2 separate regions of the Homo sapiens genome follow, and region 1 is linked to region 2. The links are contacts of gene promoters, found by promoter capture Hi-C in human tissues and cell types (Jung and others, 2019). All regions are on one chromosome and are shown on one strand. The core of a region is centred on a gene start or on the middle of the fragment in contact, and the rest is flanking DNA. Distances in the headings are between cores, read along the strand shown. Region 1 overlaps CYB561D1 (cytochrome b561 family member D1). Region 2 holds the start of GPR61 (G protein-coupled receptor 61).

The links. The method cuts DNA at HindIII sites, captures the fragments that hold promoters and counts their contacts. A contact is called where the count stands out against the background at its distance.
Region 1: a fragment that was not itself captured here is called in contact with the fragment with the promoter of GPR61 in region 2 in 15 of the 25 tissues and cell types used here (H1 embryonic stem cells, IMR-90 fibroblasts, adrenal gland and 12 more).

What each region holds. Positions count from the first base shown.
Region 1 is chr1:109,497,629-109,504,215 of GRCh38, reverse strand. It overlaps CYB561D1 (cytochrome b561 family member D1), which reads right to left. Exons shown (of 3, transcript NM_182580.3): 3 at 3,781-6,587. It overlaps AMIGO1 (adhesion molecule with Ig like domain 1), which reads left to right. Exons shown (of 2, transcript NM_020703.4): 2 at 1-38. Among named protein-coding and RNA genes, the nearest start is that of CYB561D1, 6.8 kb to the right of the region's middle. RefSeq lists an enhancer at 4,228-4,727 and a silencer at 5,575-5,869. The HindIII fragment of the contact is 8,294 bases long and covers 1-6,587 here.
Region 2 is chr1:109,535,360-109,541,841 of GRCh38, reverse strand. GPR61 (G protein-coupled receptor 61) reads right to left here and starts at 1,970. Exons shown (of 2, transcript NM_001393907.1): 1 at 1,889-1,970. RefSeq lists enhancers at 1,456-1,955, 1,956-2,457. The HindIII fragment of the contact is 6,013 bases long and covers 1-4,390 here.

The sequences.
Region 1 (6,587 bases), core at 1,607-4,106, 39 kb after region 2:
AATGATCATTAAACCTGGCTTGAGTCTCTGTTCTGGCACAATCTGACTGGTTTATTTTTTCAGCCTGTGGGTGGGGTTCACTGTACCTCAGAAGGGTGTGTCCTATCTAGGAAGAAAATCTTTAAGTGCTATTGTACGGACATGGGTGAAATACACATCTAGGCATTAAGATGGACCGGGGTCAGCAAACATTTTCCCTAACGAGCCAGATAGTAAATATTTTAGGCTCTGCAGACCACACAGTCTCTGTTACAACTCAGCTGTGCTGCTATAGCTTGAGTGTAGCCACAGACAGGACAAAAATGAATGACTGTGGCTGTGGTCCAAAAAAGATTTGACTTATGGACATTGAAATTTGAATTTCATATTTTAACATGCCTTTTGAGTTTTTCCAAGCATTAAAAAATATATAAACTAGGCCGGGCGCGGTGGCTCACGCCTGTAATCCCAGCACTTTGGGAGGCCGAGACAGGTGGATCACAAGGTCAGGAGATCGAGACCATCTTGGCTAACACGGTGAAACCCCGTCTCCACTAAAAATACAAAAAATTAGCCGGGTGTGGTGGTGGGCGCCTGTAGTCCCAGCTACGCAGGAGGCTGAGGCAGGAGAATGGGGTGAACCCGGGAGGTGGAGCTTGCAGTTAGCCAAGATAGCGCCACTGCACTCCAGCCTGGGCAACAGAGCAAGACTCCATCTCAAAAAAAAAAAATGTTATATATATATATATATATATATATAAACTACTATTAGCTCACAGGCCACATAAAACCAGGCAGTGGGCTGGTTTGACCAACAGACCATACTTTGCTGACCCCTAAGATTCTCAAATGTCACTGAAGCTTTAGAGTTTAGAAATCCCATGACTTGGCGCTCGCTGAGGCTTGTAGATAATGAAGTCTTCCTGGATCCCTAGGGCAGAGGGTTGCCTCCCTGCCGAGTTCTCTTAAAAGTCTGGATCAAGCCTACTGACCATACCATGGAAAAAATGCTTGGATTGGGTTTTAAAAAATGGTGGGCAGCAGCTCACTTTCACAGAATTTTATTATCAGTATTTTCATGTTGTAAATGGTAGCCATCTTAGGCTAAAAGTATATTCACCTAATGGGCAGGTTAATCTTCCTTGACAGTTTAGTGTGTCCTAGGCATTGCGTGGAACAGAAAAATGCAGTCCCTACGTTTTGGTACAGATTCAGCCTACCAGAAATTGGACTGGACTCTAAAACTCTAACCATGCTGATTCTTTGGCTCCTCTCTTGGTGATTCTAGAAGGGGGCTGTCGTGGCAGATTCCAAAGAGGGAGAGGAAATGATACCAGGAAAAAAATTAAAAGAATGCGAATTTGAATACTTACCTAAAGTCTTGACCGAAGGGCAGCCCTCCTCTATTTGGAAAGTTGTTTTTCACTTCAGGAGGAACAACCAAGGTGACGAGGGGTGGAGCTACTGCACAACCAGCCACATCAGACAAGTCAACCTTGGCAGTCAGTGAAATGACAGCTGTTGATGTCAGAGCACTCCCATACTCTGCATTTATATAGTTTTTCATCTGCAAAGCAGTTTTTCTATGGCTGACAATTTGGCTGACAGGATGAAGCTGATAAGGAGAGCAAGTCTGATGAGGACTACTTGGAGTTTGGAGTTCTCTCTTCTGTTTTGGCCTGTGCCAAGCCCAAGGAAGTCCATGGCTGCATCTCTTCAACACCCCCCACCCACCCACCACCCACATCCTCACCACCTCCCCCAAACCACAAGAAGTTCCTTAGATTCTGGCCAAGATGTGCAATTTTGTCTGCCATGCCTTGCAGCACTTACCCTGGCTCCTCTTAGGTAGCACTTGCGGGGAGGGAGGAGGCTAATATGACAGTTTTCTTTGAGAATAGGTAAGAGTTCAGTGCATTGGTTAACCTGGCCTCTCTTCCCCCCAGTCTCTCAACTCCTTCCCTTTCTGCATGCACTTCTTGCACCACTTATCTTGTATCTCCCAGGAAACCAGTGGGGAAGCTTCACTTTCTCCACCCACATAGCAGAAAAGGCTCAGGCCCCTGCAGTGGGACGGTTGGCTTTTCTGGTCTAGTCACAGTCAGCCTGTGCTGAATGCTTCCTCTCCTGGGGCTTGAGAGAGGAAGGCTAAAGCAGCTGCCAGTCAAGCCCCTTCATCAGGCTTCTACACTCTTAGGTGGAAAATGCAAAATGGTGAAGACACTTAGACCTGCCCTGACGCCTCCAATCTAGTCAGCTTGTTTACTCTCCCTGGTTGGAACCATGGCCTGAGAGAACCAACCTGCAGTGAGCCAGGACGTGGAGCCCTGCAGTGGGACTTCTGGATGCCCTTTGGCACTGGCATACATTAGGCAGGAGTCATTGCCTCCAAGGCTGGTGTATGCGTGCATGTGCGCACACATACAGGTTGGCAAGTACTGGAGTTGGATTGTACTTTGTGCTGCATTTCCCTTACCTCCCACTGCTCCCTCACTTGGTCATAGTTTGCTTTTGGGGGGCCTGAGCAGAACTGAGCATCCTTAGAAAGCACCATGAGATAACTGGGTATCTGCTTTAAAGATAGGGGTGCTAGGGGGCCACTCATGTATACTCAGTGAGACAGAGTTGGCTCCTCAGATGCCACTGAATAGCCTGAAGTCGTTCCTTAATCTGCTTCCAACAGAGGTTAAAAACTCATCTGGGAAATCCTAGCAATAGCAGGATTATAAACTGAGATTGTTATTCTGTGATGCATCTGGTGACTAGCTGAGTCTCCTGAGTGGGTGGGTAGGGGGAAGGTCCCCTCACTGGAGGTAATTTCTGCCTACATGAAGGGGTTAAGCCCAGCGCCATGCTGGAGACGGGCTACTTCAAACCACCCTCCAGGGCAGTTCTGCCTTTCAGCTTGTCGTCTTTGTGCAGTGCTGGTGAGAACTGCTGAGGCTCTGCACACAATGCCTGACTAGTGTTTCATTCCTGGATCCCAGGACAGAAAAAGCAATTAAGATAAAAAACGAATATTCAAGCCTCTGCACTGCTGTTTTGCTGTTCCTGCTTCTTTGCATCCACTCCAGGCAGACTGCTGCTGCTCTCAGACAAATGGAATGGAAAGTATTCTTCCCCAATTTAAAACTTAAACAGAACTGCTTTCAGTGTGTGTGTGTGCGTGTGTGTGTGTGTGTATGTGAATGCCAATAAAGCACTTGGAGGAGGAGGGGACTGATCCTATTCCACGAGCCTGAAATGGGGAAAGGGAAACCAGGCTGTGGACCCTGGGAAGCCAGGGGTCCCTGCTCTGCATCTCCAATGCCTGAGGCAGGTGTTGCTCATTCTGTGGCTTCGGTAAACAGAGGGTCTGTGGCGATGCTGTTTGCTCCAGTTGCTCCTCCCTTCCTAGCTTGTCTGCTCCACTTTTCCCTCAGAAGGGCAGAATTAGGAGAGATTTAGATAGACTTGTGACCTGCAGCTCCCTACGAAGACCAGCTCCAGGAACTTCAGGCTGGACCTAGGGAGGAATTGTACTGACTCCGAGATCTGCAGTCTGCCCTGTGATTTGGGAACACCAGGTAGGCAGCACTTACGGCAAACTTCACTAGTCATGGCCGTGGTGGCATTTCTGGCAGGAGTTGGTAAGAGCTGACCTTGCATCTGGAAGGAAGAAATGTGTCCATGTTTTCTTATGATGGCCAGAACAACTCTCTGAGACTTAGATCCCCTGTCATTATCCATAACTGTTTATTGCCTAAGAAGCATAAAGCCCAAAGCCTGGCTCAGTGAAAGAGAAGGACAAGAACATAATAATACCACCTGTTTACATGTGTTTAATGCTTTGAATTTTCCAATTCCTATTAACATTCATTCTCTCATCAAACCCTCACAACATCCCTGTGAGGTAGGTCAGGCAATAAGTGGTTTGCCCACAGCCACACCAGTGATAGGGACGGAGTAAACCCATACTGCAGGTTTCCCAGCCCCCAAGCTGATGCACCTTTCATTTCATGTTACACAGGATCTTTGTGCCAACCAGACACAGGAGCATCAAGAGCACTACCAGAAGCCTCCCTGCTCTCTGAGCTTGCAGAGGGGACCCAGAAATGCTGGGCTTGAGGCATCAAGACCAGGGGTGCCCCCTGTAGGCCAAGCCAGGTAAACAGAAGGAAGGGCAGGAGTACTGGAAGTTCAGGCTCAACAGCCACCCCTGCCACCACCATAGGTCTCAGCCTAGCATACACTGTGTTCCCTACATATCTTGACCTTTGTCAGGTGCAAGTCTTATTAGTTTACTGAGAGGACTCAGTGCCCACTCCCAGACGAGAAGTCACTGCAAGGCGTGGCTAGCAGCAAGATTCCTGACTTCCTTCCCACAGTGCCTTCCCATTCTGTTACACTCTGCAGCCCAGGAAGGAGGGGGAAGGTGAGGGCTGACTGACTCAGCCTGCAAGTGCTTAGAGATCTGAAGCTGAAAGGCCCCAGCACCATTCAGCTAATGATTATTATTAACTCTGAACAGGCTTTAGCACAGCGGCCAGCTGGCTTAGGGAGGATGCCTGAATCTCCCACAGTGAGGTTTTCAAAACAAGACCTGGCTAGGCACGGTGGCTCACGCCTGTAATCACAGCACTTTGGGAGGCCGAGGCGGGCAGATCACGAGGTCAAGAGATCCTGGCCAACATGGTGAAACCCCATCTCTACTAAAAATACAAAAATTAGCTGGATATGGTGGCACGTGCCTGTAGTCCCAGCTACTCGGGAGGCTGAGGCAGGAGAATCGCTTGAACCTGGGAGGCAGAGGTTGCAGTGAGCCAAGATTCTGCCACTGCACTCCAGCCTGGCGGCAGAGTGAGACTCCGTCTTAAAAAAAACAAAAACCAAAAAAACCAGACCTACAGCAGCCATGCACGGGGGTGGAAGGGTGGGACGATGAGAAAGAAGGGATGGGCCAGTGAGTGCGGAAGGGCAGCCTGCCTTGTGAAAGGGTGGGGAGAGAGGAGGCCCAGGCTGGCAAGTGGTAACAGCCTACCACTTAAGAGCCAAGAAGGTGAGGCTGGAGGACTTCCCCAGATACAGAGCTGCTCCCATTCCATACCAACCCCAGCCATGATGGGGCTCAGAGGAGGGGTGGTTACAGAAAAGACGGGGGCTTGGGAGGGGTATCTGAACCCAGAAGGGTAATCTCATTTCCATTCAGATTTGGATACAGAAGCCATCTATATTTCTAATGTCCTCAAGGTTGAATCTGAATATAATCAAATTTGGAATATAATCAAATTTGGAATATAATCAAATTTGGAATCAGGACTTAGCTTGATATGAAAATTTGTGCAAATGACACGCAAATTTTTAAAATCTAAGCACCCTGCCCTGGCTTTTTTTTTTTTTTTAAAAAAAGGCAAAACAGGCTGACCACTAGCAGCTTTCCCTAGCCAGGGAGCAAGGACAAAAGGGCAACCATGTGCTTCTCCTCCAAGGCGTTTGCTTCCTTGCTGAGGAGCCAAGTGAATACCCCAGACATGAGCAGAATAAGGGAGGTGCGGGGAACAGAGGATGGCGGAGGAGGGAACACACAAGCAGGAGCCCATGCAGCTGGGAGCCACTGAGATCCCAGCTGGAGGAAGAGTGCCCTGGCACTGAGGTCTAATGGCTGTCCAGCTGCTGCCCCAGGATGTGAGGGCAGGTGGTGATGGAGGGAGAAATGGAAAAGAGGGGGAGGGAAGTCCCTCCACAATCCGGCCTGCCAGGATGAAGGGCTCCTCCTGGTGACCTATTCCCTACACTGCAGTCAGACCAGGCTAAGCAGGAGACCACCAGTGCCCTCCTCTCTGCTCTGTGCCCCTGCCCTCCAGGCCTGCTGGTCAGAAAGGCGACAGCTGGGGCCCCTTCCTCCTGCAGAATATAAATGACTCCCCCTTCCTCCCAGGGCTGGGAATAGACATCAGATGGCACAGCCCACGCAAACTGCCGGCTGTCAGCACGCCTGCCCGCCCGCCCACCAGCCCCCGCACCACCTGGGAGGAGGCAGCACCTCAGGCAGGCTCAGGCTTTACGGCATTGCCTGCTTGCTCTTAGAGCAAGCTGGTGAACTTTGCCTGGCCCTCCTACCCTGCGGCAGGTAGAAGGAGCCTCTCAGCACTGGCTGTGATGAGGAAAGAGGAGATGCAGTCCCTGGATCAAAATCACCGCAGGTGAAATTCTCCATGCAGCCCCAGTAACCGTTTCTTCTGAGTTCACACCACACTGGAGAGTTTGAGAGGAGGGAGGACAATGAAAGAGACAGGAACAATACCCCTCTGCACAGCAGGGGCCTCCTTTAGATGCTTGTCCTGGAGATGCAATCTCCCCCAGGAGGGGCATAATGAGTTACGTGGAGAGGACACTTCTGCCCTTGCTGTCCCCATTCTGTCCCCATACTATTGAATCAAACCAACCTCCTTACTTCTAAGCTACCCGGAGAGGAGGACCTGAATCTTCAGAAGACCAAGGACATCCACAACACTAACATCTAGGAACACCTGCCCCTGCTCCTGGGAACTGGAGCTCCAGCGCCTACATCCCAGGCTTCCCAGAGTTCCCTGTGAGCTATGTCGACTTGCCTCAGCAGCACTTTCCTG
Region 2 (6,482 bases), core at 721-3,220:
CATCCAGCCTCCACTGCTCCCAAAGCCGGAAGTTGCTTCAAGCTGCCCTTCTCCACCCACTCATGAACTCTTCAAGGCCACTGTGCCCCTCTTGTGGGAAAGGAGCTGCTGCCAACCTCCTGCTCCCCAGATCCCCAAATCTCTGATCTCTGGAGCTGACCCTTGGAGGATCCCTGACCAAGAGCCGCATTGGTTCTAGACTTACTACAGTCACAGAACAAGAAGTAGGGAGGAGACACTGAGGTTGCTCAGTTTAAAAACCCATCATTTCTATGGCTGCAATAAAGAGGATCACATGGCAAGATGGGCCCCACTCTCCTCCACAGTTATAGCCTTACAGTCACCTTTGGTTTTTGGTGTTTCCATAAACCTTACACCAATCCAACTTCTAACATGCTATGCATGCAATAGGTGCTGAATACAATTTTGTGAATTGAATCAAACTCAAATTGGTAGTTGAATCCCTGCCCCCTAGGACAAACTCCAAGAACACTCAGTCAGCCAGCTGTGTGCCAGCCAAGGGACTCTCTTGTGGAAAGGGTAGCCGGGGTTCCTGGACTTGAGGAAGCCCTAACTTTGGGCAACTGCCTAGAGACGTGCCTCTCTCTAGGGACACAGAAAGCTCATTTCACAGTTAAGATGCCCACAGAGACTTAGAGTCTGCAGAGAAGTTGAAGAGCGGGCACAAAAGTGAGACATCAGCTTCTCATTAGAGTCTACCAGGAAAAATGCCTGAAAGAAATGCTAGGAGAAGCATCCTTCCTTCTTACTCTCCATGCTCTGATTTACCTATCCCTTCTGTCTGTGAGTGAGGCCCAGAGGATGTGGTTCAGAGTCCCTCCCTGGTGGCTGAAGGAGGAGAGGCCCACCATGTCTGGATGGACATCAAGAGTCCCAGACGGAGGGAAGCAGACCTGGTTTCCACGTGGAGCTGGAGGGATGCCACGAAGCCATGATGGAGCCCTGAGCAAGAAGGCATTGGACATTGCTCTTTTTCATAGCTCCCTCAAGCTTGCCAGTGTCTCCACAGTGACTCCTAAATGCCAGGATTCCAATTTACCTCTTAACAGACAGATCAGTGTATCTGGCTAATGGGCACTCCCTCACTAATGGACTGGGGTTATGGAGGGGAGGGCTGTGGTGTAACAGTTTCATAGGTGAAACCCAGGGAGCCTCACTCCTCTCCCAGGTCATATCATTATGCCTACTCCCCCAACAGATGCTTTCCTTCCCCCACTACTTACTTCCAACAGCACCCCTCTTACCTCCAGGACCTTCAGTACCTAGAAGGCTTTGCCACTAGGGCCTGAGGTCTGGGCCTCTAGCAGGGGCATGGTCAAGTTACAGGATGCAAGATGTGCATAAGTGCCCAGCCCAAGGCCACAGAGGTATTGGGATTCACATGCACCTGTTTTCCAGATCCAGAGCTTCCATCCCAAAGACCTGAGCCTGGCCTTCCTTCAGACAAGAGCGTGCCCCTCCTAAGCTAGGGAAGATTTCCAGGGAGCTACAACACCTCTCCTCAGCAGAGTTGCCCACGCCCAGGACACAGTTGCCCATCAGCCTGTATGCTGAAGGGCCCATTCCTAGAATGTGGGAGACCCATGTCCATGACATGGAGCAAGACAGATGGAGAATGCTGTTTGTCTGCAGGATGTGGGTACTCCTGCCGGCAGGAGATGATCAACCCCCCAGCTCTGGGCTTCAGAGATGCCCACACCCCAATACCGCCTTTGGGATACCTGAGAGCCCATCTCCTGATCAAACTGCTCACCGGAATGTAGGCAGGGCTGGTCCTTGGAAAGCCACCCTTCTGTGGGGATACCTTGGCACTCACCACCAGGCTCTGGGTCTGGCCCCCATTCCTGGCCTAGTCGGCAACTCCTACCTTTGCTGAGCAGTCCCGGCTCCCATGTGATAGCTCCTCTCAGCTGATGCTTCTCCAAGGCTGCTGAAGCCTGAAGCACTGCAGTGAGCGGTGAGAGGCAGCCGGCAAAGCAGAGTGCTCCGAGAGCCTCTGGGTCCTAATGGCCTCCTGCTTCCCACCCAGCCCCTCAGAGTCACTTCTGGAGCAAAAAGGTGGGCACCAATGCCCCAGGCAAGGTGCCTGGCAGTGAGCTCAACTCCTCTCACTTCTCTCAGGCTGCTGGATTGCGTCTCAAAAATTTCGTGGGGCCAGGAAATGATAGGTAGGGGAGACCCTCTTGACCAGCCTGATGAAGTAAAAAAAAAAGTACATGGAGTCAGAAAATCCAGGTTTAAGGCCTGGCTATGGCACTTACTAGCCGTGTGACCTTGGGCAAGTTGCATTTTGGCCTTGATTTCTTAGCAGTTCAAAGAGAAGATAGGAGAGATGCATGGTTCTGTGTGACATCAGAACCAAGGTGCTGATGCAGGCAGGTCAGCGCAGACCCAGGGCCCCAAGGCTTAGGCCAGGGAGGCGGCTGAGGCTCCAGGGGATGGTCCAAGGTTTGGCCCCTTTGGAAGCTGCCTAATGCGTATGGGGGACAGGTTTAGGAGCAGCACTCAGGTTTGAAGGGCAGCTGAAGGCTTTGTCTTAACCCTGCCCTTGCCTCCCAAAAGCACATTATTATTATTTGCTTAGATTGTATGTTTATTGGAACTGGGGCTGTGAGGGCTGATGGAGATTGGCAGGGAGGGGGCGGGAGGATCTAACATCCCCCCGAGCCACCATGGGAACCACCACAACACTGCTTCCTGAAGGAGACAGAGTGGGGGCCAGGGACTCAGGAATGCTCACACTGATCTGGATTTGTGGGACTGGACAGAGCTAGGTAGCATCAGCCACTGAGCATCGCCCATCTGTGGCATGATGGGCCTTCAGAGACGCAATGAAGGGGCATGGCCTCCCTCTAGCTATGAAGAAAATGATCATTTACCCGGGTACATGACTGATACCCAAGGATAGAATCCTAACATTGCAAAGCTGTAGGACATCCTACAGGCCAAGGTATCCATGTTTCTGAGACCCAGAGAGATAAAGAGATTGCTCAAAGCCACATAGCTCCACATGGCAGAGCCATGAGTCTAAACAGGGAATTCAGGCATGATCCCCTACTCCAGAGCCTGCTTCCCTGAGACTTGCCTATCTAGGGACTCCTTCTGCCTCTAAGAAGGAAAAAGGGAATTCTGGAATTGTTTACCAGACCCAACCCAAAGAGCCATAAGAACAATGAGTTACCCAAGGACCTCACTGGGACAAGTTGGCTGCCCCAAGCCCCAGGTCAAAAACAAAGAGGCCACTGACAAACCAAGAGCCGATGCAGCAAGTGCCGCTGTCACCAGCCACCACTTTTTGAGCTGTTATGAGTGCCAGGCCCTTTACATACAGTTTCTTTGATCCCCACACCAATCTATGAGGCAGCCATGACTTGCCCTATTTTATAAGTGAGGAACCGGGTGCTGGAGGAGAAGTGACTTTCCCCAAATCACACAGCTAATAAGTGCAAGAGCTGATATTTGAACCCAGATCTGTTTGAAGTCCAAGTATTTCCTCCTCCTTCTCCCTTCGTTCCGTGGCCTCTCCAGTGGCCTGACACAAGACTGTGGACTACAGCCCTAAAAGCTATCTTCATAGAAGTAGTCACTGCCTTCCAGAAAGCCTAAAACAGACCTCAAAATTAGGCATACCTGCGTACAAGAAATTCAAATGGAAATACCAAATTGAAAACCTGTAGACAGCAAAGTGATTTTTAGGAAGCCCTGTGCTGTTGTGTTGGCAAGATTAATTTGGCATCAAGCAGATTGTCTGGGATTAGGTAAAGCCTGTCCCTGCTCAGCACCCACATTCTTCCTGCAGGGCCCCAGCCCAGACTGGCATGGCCCCTTCCGAGGGATTCAATAAGAACTGGAGCAGACCTGGGCCCACTGGAACAGGATTTTAGAAAGAGCGCTAGACTGGAGTCAGAAAACCTTGGTTCCAGTTTGGCGCCATTCTATTGGTTGGTGGTAAGACCTTGGCCTGTGAGTTGGCTGTCTGTGAAAATGGGCAAAATTCTTCACTTCCAAGCTTATCTAATAGTGGTAGGGAGCCTGCAAAACAAACATAGCCTGCCTCTCCAGCTTCAGGGAGCTAGCACAGGTAATCACAGCTCATGTGGTGGCCAGCAGGCAAGGCGTCCGTGTCCTGAAGCCCCTCCCAGAGAGCTATTGGGAAAGGCAGTACCAAAGAGGCAGCATGTTCCAGCTGTTGGAACCATCTTGGCTCAGGAGGTCGGCGGGGGAACTGCTTATTCTAGCCTGTGGGCAAATAATAAATAATAATAATAATCATGCTGGCTGGGCACAGTGGCTCACGCCTGTAATTCCAGCACTTTGGGAGGCTGAGGCGGGCAGATGATTTGAGATCAGGAGTTCAAGACCAGCCTGGCCAACATGGCGAAACCCCGTCTCTACTAAAAATACAAAAATTAGCTAGGCATGGTGACACATGCCTGTAATCCCAGCTACTCAGGAGGCTGAGGCAGGAGAATCGCTTGAACCCAGGAGGTGGAGGTTGCAGTGATCTGAGATCGCACCATTGCACTCCAGCCTGGGCAATAAGAGTGAGACTCTGTCTCAAAAAATAATAATAATAAATAATAATAATAATAATGCTACTAGTTCTTGAAGGCCCACTTTGGGAGGCACTTCTTATGCTGTATCTTATTAAATGATCTCAGTCAGGGTGTGGAGTAGCTACTGACAGCACACCCCCAACCCCACCTGCCAGTCCCTCCTTTTAGTAAAGCTTAGCACAATGGAGGGGGCAAGAAGACCAAGATGGAGAAACTGAGTGTGATCCCCCAAACCACATAAGAGATCCATGGCTCACTATGCTGTGCACACACCCAGGAAGGGAATCCTGTTACAGGACGGGGACCAGGCCCTGTTTCCAACAGTGGCACCCCTTCCCTTGGTATCATGGCAGGGCCCTTGCTGCTGAGGACTGATCTTTGCATCCTAGACTTGCTCCCTGGTACAGTTTTACCCAACCCTTGTGCACCAGCACCTCGTGACAGGGTCGTGTCTGCCCATCCACCCTTTTCTGCCCCAGGATGAGACCTGGAAGCCAATCAAGTTTATCTTTCATTCATCCATCCACTTCTTCAATAAACATTGAAGACTTCTTATGTTGCCACTGCCCCCTCCCTAGAGCCCCTTGCCTGCTCAGTGGCACCCACTACCCTCCTTCTCTGCCTTGTGTCAGAATCTGCTCTCAGGAAAGAGGTTGATAAACCCATTTGCACTGATAGCAACTTAATGTGTTCTTTCCCAGGAATATTAACAATTTAACAGGGAACAAAGAGAAGAAGCAGAACGTTGGGATTCCAGCATCGACCAGGGATGTCCCTGAGATCCCACAACATAGACTGCCTGTCAGCCGCCTACTCCCTAGCCAGGCCTCCCCCGCCAAGCTGCTGGCATTGTGTCCTCTTGGCATCCACCTCCATCCGCATGGGCACCCAACCCCCCCGCCCCTGCCAACCAGACAGCAGGCTTACAGCTGGGACCTCCACACCACAGCTCAGTTCCTGGCTTCCTGGGGCCCCCCTGTACCAGCACCAGCCATGCCTGCTTTCCAAGCACTCACCTCACCCTGCCCAGCATCTGGGAGCCAGGCCAAGGGGCTGAGGAGGGAGGCAGAGGAAAGCAGAGGTGAGAGCCCTTCCATTCTCTTTATTCCCCCACTGTCTGGCCTACACCCCCTGCCAGGAGCTGAGATCCAATGGTATATTCAGCCTGCAGCTGCCACTGGTCATGTGAGCCCATTGCTAGGTTACAGGGACCCAAAAATAAATCCTTCCCAACCAGATTAGAAACTGGGGGCCTCGGATGAACCAGGCTCAAAAGAGTGGCAGGAACACCCACAGTGCATGTTTAGGCCAGGCCTGCTATGGACCAGGGCCCTTCCCATGCTGCCCACCTCCTGTCCATCAGCAGGGGCTCAATGCTGGAACCCCACAGAAAAGTCCCAGAGAGCTCCTGGGTCTCCTATTTATTAATAACACAATAAATAGGTCTACAGGTTGAGTGGCCCTTCCTCACTAGCAATCAGGGTAATATCCTCTGCATGTTCTTCCCATCCAACCTTCCCATCATCAGCCTGTCCCTCCACAGGCCCTGCCCTACACCCAGTGCATGGGCAAAGCGAATTAGTCATTTGCCCTGTGGCCTGGGGGCCATCTGCCCTAACAGTCCTTTTCCAGACTCGGGAAGGGAGCTCTGGCAGTAGGCACAGCACTAGGCGTATTCGTGTGAGTAGTCTTACACAATCTTCTCTGTTAGTCTCAATGATTCCATTTACAGATATGGACACTGGGGCTTAGAGAGGTTAAGTGACTTTTGCAGAGCCACACAGTTGAGCAACTGGGGTTCAAACCCCAGATCTATACTATGGGGATGAGGCAAGGAAGAAGACAGGGAAGCACAGTTATGGAAAGGGGAGTTCCCCAAAACCCTTCCCTGGGGCCTGAAAACTT